Regions from separate parts of the Homo sapiens genome. Here region 2 is linked to region 1. Evidence: promoter capture Hi-C in human tissues and cell types (Jung and others, 2019). All regions are on one chromosome and are shown on one strand. The core of a region is centred on a gene start or on the middle of the fragment in contact, and the rest is flanking DNA. Distances in the headings are between cores, read along the strand shown.

Region 1 (2,700 bases), core at 167-2,666:
TCAAATGGTATTTCTGGTTCTAGATCTTTCAGGAATTGGCACACTCTCTTCCACAATGGTTGAACCAATTTACATTCCCAACAGTGTAAAAGCATTCATGTTTCTCCACAGCTTTACCAGCATCTGTTGTTTCTGGACTTTTTAATAATCACCATTCTGACTGGCATGAGATGGTATCTCATTGTGGTTTTGATTTGCATTTCTCTGATGATCACTGGTGTTGAGCTTTTTTTCATATGTTTGTTGGCCGCATAAATGTCTTCTTTTGAGAAGTGTCTGTTCATGTCCTTTGCCCACTTTTCAATGGGGTTGTTTGTTTTTTTTCTTGTAAATTTGTTTAAGTTCCTTGTAGATTCTGGATATCAGACCACAAATTTTCTTAATCTGTCTCCAGTGATGGGAAAGCTAAGCTATTTGTCCACTGATTCCCAACGCCCACTGGATGCCAGGGATACTAAATCCCTCGCTCTTTCAAACTGTTATACTTGCAAGCTATACAAGCTCCCTGGGGGCCAGAGAAAACCCACAGCAGAAAATTAGGGACTGATGCTAGAGGTAGGAGGCTGTCAATGTGCATTGGCTATTATTCGGCCATAAAAAGGAATGAACTTCTCACTCACCACTGATGACATGCCTTGCTGCACACACACCCTGCTGCCACCCTGCAGAAATGCTTCCATTACCCACAGTCCTTTGCCAGATGGAACTGATGCCCAGGTAACTGGCTCCTCACCTCCTTCGGGCTTATACCAAGGATATAAAACTTGGTACAGATGCTCAAGCGTTAATGCTTCAGGGTGTGACTTTTAATCCAATGCTGTAGCTGTGACAACAGGGAAAAACGGAGAACAGAGTTGGAGAAGTCCCAAAGTAATGAAAGAAGTTATTTACTGTTGCAAAATCAAACGACTTAAAGGATAAATGTAACTGATCTTTACATACGAAAGAAGAGAGAGGGAAGTGAAGGGCGGGGAGAAAGAGACTCAGACAGACAGAGACTCCCTGAGAAAAAGACAGGCACAGAGTAAAAGACATACAGATGCACAGAAAAGAGAAGAAACAGAGTGAGAAAAATAAAACATAAGAATAGACATGTCAGGAGAAGAGTGAAATTAGAAAGAAGGAAGAGAGCTAGCATACTGTTAACCTGCAAACTCCCCCTGGGAAATGGAAGACTCTGGAGTTAAACCTCCCCTTCTGCTAAGGGAGCCTGGAAAGCCCAAGACAACATGTGCCCTCTTTCCCTGGTAGACCAGAAAGCCTCAGATTGCTGAGGATTAGGAGCCACCTATCCCCCAGTGTAGGTACCAGGTAGTCCCACTGATGGCCTCAGGGATCTGGTGTTCCTGATCGGGGAGTCTGGCTGGCTTGTCTCCAGGGCTGTCTCTTAAGGTGCTGGGCCACACCGGGGCAGGCAAAGTGCAGATGTAGGAGCTGCTGAGGAGCAGTTCTTAGTTTTGGTGCCATCAACCAGGCCAGTACTTCCTAAAATGGGACTCTCAGGACTTCTGCCAATCCTGGTACCATTCATCCTTTTGGGGGACATCCAGGAACCTGGGCACGCTGAAGGCATCCTTGGCAGTAAGTATTGGGAACTCCGTCCTTGCAATGGGGAAAGGAAACTCAGTGGGGAGGAAGGAACAAAGAATAATTTTGCAGCTGAGAAATTATTTTCTCCACCTCTGCCTGGAATTCCAGGTGGGAAAGAGGGGAGCTATTTGAAGTCTCTTGGTAAGAGACTCCCTTGGTGAATACAGGCATCCAAATCTGTGGCAAGTGACTCCTTGCTGCCATTCCAAAGAGTTCTTCCTGGAGGTGCCTGGACCTAGAGCTCATGAAATGAACTAAGAAGGAGTAGTAAGCCCAAGGAAGTCTCCCACAAGAAAAACAGGCTGCTCCCCACAACACCACCTGTGTCAACTTCCAAATGTTCTCATTGCAGCCCCCACACCCATACCCACAGAGGACCCTGGTCTTTGGGTTAAAGAATGGTCTCCAGAAGTCCCTTGGAATGCTGAAATGTGAAGACTCACAATTAGCAGCTAACTGTACTGGGCACTGAAAATTAGTGGTTGAAAGTGAGCACTCAGGAGCCACACATTGTAGGTTCAAACCTGGCTCCACCCCTGAGTAGCTGTGTGATCTTGGGCAAATTCACATAATCTCCTTATGCTTCCAATTCTTCTGTTTACAAAATGTGAATATTAAGAGTACTTACCCATAGATTTGTAATGAGGATTAAGGAGAAAAGGCAGCTCACAGTAAGTGCTTCATCCATATTACTCATTGTTACGTTACATTGCCCCAGGCAGTTTGACGATGGCTTGTCAAACTGTGTTGCTGGTTAGTCTTCAAAGCAACCCTATGGGCAAATGAGGAAATCAAGGCTCAGAGAGAGTGCCTGGCACACCAAGCGTCTCACAGAATTCAAAAGCCCAGCTATCTGATGCCAGAAATGTTAATCTCAATCATCGAGAGCCACAGCACCTCCTGGGGGAGCAACCAAGCACAGCAAGGCTGAGTGACCAGAACAGTCTTAGAGGAATGCGTCTTTCTCTCAGGAATCTCATAGATGGTGCGGGTAGGGGGTAGGGGTTGGTTTAGGCATCCGATGGTGAGTTGTTATGGGGTTGGGGATGTGAGCAGTGTTGTGAAATTCCTGAGCCCCCTGAGGGCCACTACCTTCTGGGGATAGGTGAA
Region 2 (2,700 bases), core at 40-2,539, 63 kb after region 1:
GGGCAGAGCCCAACACAGCTCGGCAAAGCCGCTGTAGCCAGACTGCCTCTCTAGATTCCTCCTCTCTGGGCAGGGCATCTCTGAAAAAAAGGCAGCAGCCCTAGTCAGGGGCTTATAGGTAAAACTCCCATCTCCCTGGGACAGAGCACCTGGGGGAAGGGGCAGCTGTGGATGTGGCTTCAGCCTGCCTGCCGGTTCTGAAGAGAGCAGCAGATCTCCCAGCACAGCATTTGAGCTCTGCTAAGGGTCAGACTGCCTCCTCAAGTGAGTCCCTGATTTCCGTGTCTCCTGACTGGGAGACACCTTCCAGCAGGGGCTGACAGACACCTCATACAGGAGAGCTCTGGCTGGCATCTGGCGGGTGCCCCTCTGGGACAAAGCTTCTAGAGGAAGGAACAGGCAGCAATCTTTGCTGTTCTGCAGCCTCTGCTGGTGATAGCCAGGCAAACAGGGTCTGGAGTGGACCTCCAGCAAACGCCAACAGACCTGCAGCTGAGGGGCCTGATTGTTAGAAGGAAAACTAACAGAAAGGAATAGCATCAACATCAACAAAAAGGACGTCCACTCAGAAGGCCCATCCAAAGATCATCAACATCAAAGACCAAAGGTAGATAAATCCACGAAGATGGGGAGAAACCAGCACAAAAAGGCTGAAAATTCCAAAAACCAGAACACCTCTTCTCCAAAGGATCACAATTCCTCGCCAGCAAGGGAACAAAACTGGACGGAGAATGAGTTTGACAAATTGACAGAAGTAGGCTTCAGAAGGTGGGTAATAACAAACTCCTCCAAGCTAAAGGAGCATGTTCTAACCCCAATGCAAGAAAGGTAAGAACCTTGAAAAAAGGTTATAGGAATTGCTAACTAGATTAACCAGTTTAGAGAAGAACATAAATGACCTGATGGAGCTGAAAAACACAGCACGAGAACGTCATGAAGCCTATACAAGTATCAATAGCCGAATTGATCAAGCAGAAGAAGGATATCAGAGATTGAAGATCAATTTAATGAAATAAAGAATGAAGATGAGATTAGAGAAAAAATAATGAAAAGGAATGAATGAACAAAGCCTCCAAAAAATATGGGACTATGTGAAAAGACCAAACCTATGTTTGATTGATGTACCTGAAAGTGATGGGGAGAATGGAACCAAGTTGGAAAACACTGTTCAGGATATTATACAGGAGAACTTCCCCAACCTAGCAAGAAAGGCCAACATTCAAATTCAGGAAATACAGAGAACACCTCAAAGATACTCCTTGAGAAGAATAACCCCAAGACACATAATCATCAGATTCACCAAGGTTGAAATGAAGAAAAAAATGTTAAGGGCACCCAGAGAGAAAGGTTGGGTTACCCACTATGGGAGGCCCTTCAGACTAACTGCAGATCTCTCTGCAGAAACCCTGCAAACCAGAAGACAGTGGGGGCCAATATTCAATATTCTTAAAGAATTTTCAACCCAGAATTTCATATCCAGCCAAAGTAAGCTTCATACATGAAGGAGAAATAAAATCCTTTATAGACAAACAAATGCTGAGGGATTTTTCTCATCAACAGGCCTGCCTTACAAGGTCTCCTGAAAGGAGCACTAAACATAGAAAGGAACAACTGGAATCAGCAACTGCAAAAACATACCAAATTGTAAAGACCATCGACACTATGAAGAAACTGCATCAACTAATAGACAAAATAACCAGCTAGCATCATAATGACAGGATCAAACTCACACATAACAATATTAACCTTAAATGTAAACAGGCTAAATGCCCCAGTTAAAAGACAAAGACTGGCAAATTGGATAAAGAGTCAAGACCCATTGGTGTGCTGTATTCAGGAGACCCATCTCAAGTGCAAAGACACATAGGCTCAAAATAAAGGGATAGAGGAATATTTACCAAGCAAATGGAAAGCAAAAAAAAATCAGGGGTTGCAATTCTATTCTCTGATAAAACAGACTTTAAACCAACAAAGATCAAAAGAGACAAAGAAGGGCATTACACAATGGTAAAGGGATCAATGCAACAAGAAGAGCTAATTATGCTAAATATATATGCACCTAATACAGGAGCACCCTGATTCATAAAGCAAGTTCTTAGAGACCTACAAAGAGACTTAGACTCCGACATAATAATAGTGGGAAACTTTAACCCCCACTGTCAATATTAGACAGATCAATGAGACGGAAAATTAACAAAGATATCCAAGACTTGAACTCAGCTCTGGACCAAGCAGACCTAATAGACATCTACAGAACTCTCCACCCCAAATCAACAGAATATACATTCTCCTCAGCACCACATCACACTTATTCTAAAACTGACCACATAATTGGAAGTAAAACACTAATTAGCAAATGCAAAAGAACGGAAATCCTAACAGTCTCTCAGACCACAGTGCCATCAAATTAGAATTCAGGATTAAGAAACTCACTCAAGACCGCATAACCTTACATGGAAACTGAACAACCTGCTCCTGAATGACTACTAGGTAAATAACAAAATCAAGGCAGAAATAAATAAGTTCTTTGAAACCAATGAGAACAAAGACATAACATACCAGAATCTCTGAGACACAGCTAAAGCAGTGCTTAGAAGGAAATTTATAGCACTAAATGCCCACAAGGGAAAGCAGGAAAGATCCAAAATTGACACCCTAACATCACAATTAAAAGAACTAGAAAAGCAAGAACAAACAAAT

Evidence for each region. Contacts are between HindIII fragments. The study calls those that stand out against the background at their distance.
Region 2: a fragment that was not itself captured here is called in contact with the fragment with the promoter of WFDC6 in region 1 in 1 of the 25 tissues and cell types used here (H1 embryonic stem cells).

Annotation. Positions count from the first base shown.
Region 1 is chr20:45,538,198-45,540,897 of GRCh38, reverse strand. WFDC6 (WAP four-disulfide core domain 6) reads left to right here and starts at 1,416. Exons shown (of 3, transcript NM_080827.2): 1 at 1,416-1,581. The coding sequence starts at 1,491. All of the region lies in intron 3 of EPPIN-WFDC6 (EPPIN-WFDC6 readthrough), which reads left to right. EPPIN (epididymal peptidase inhibitor) reads left to right here. Exons shown (of 4, transcript NM_020398.4): 4 at 1-272. LOC107987282 (a long non-coding RNA gene) reads right to left here. Exons shown (of 4, transcript XR_001754641.3): 3 at 2,219-2,362; 4 at 511-823. It also overlaps the pseudogene HSPD1P21. The HindIII fragment of the contact is 28,992 bases long and covers 1-2,700 here.
Region 2 is chr20:45,475,227-45,477,926 of GRCh38, reverse strand. The region is part of intron 2 of WFDC2 (WAP four-disulfide core domain 2); the gene reads right to left. Among named protein-coding and RNA genes, the nearest start is that of WFDC2, 6.8 kb to the right of the region's middle. The HindIII fragment of the contact is 2,290 bases long and covers 145-2,434 here.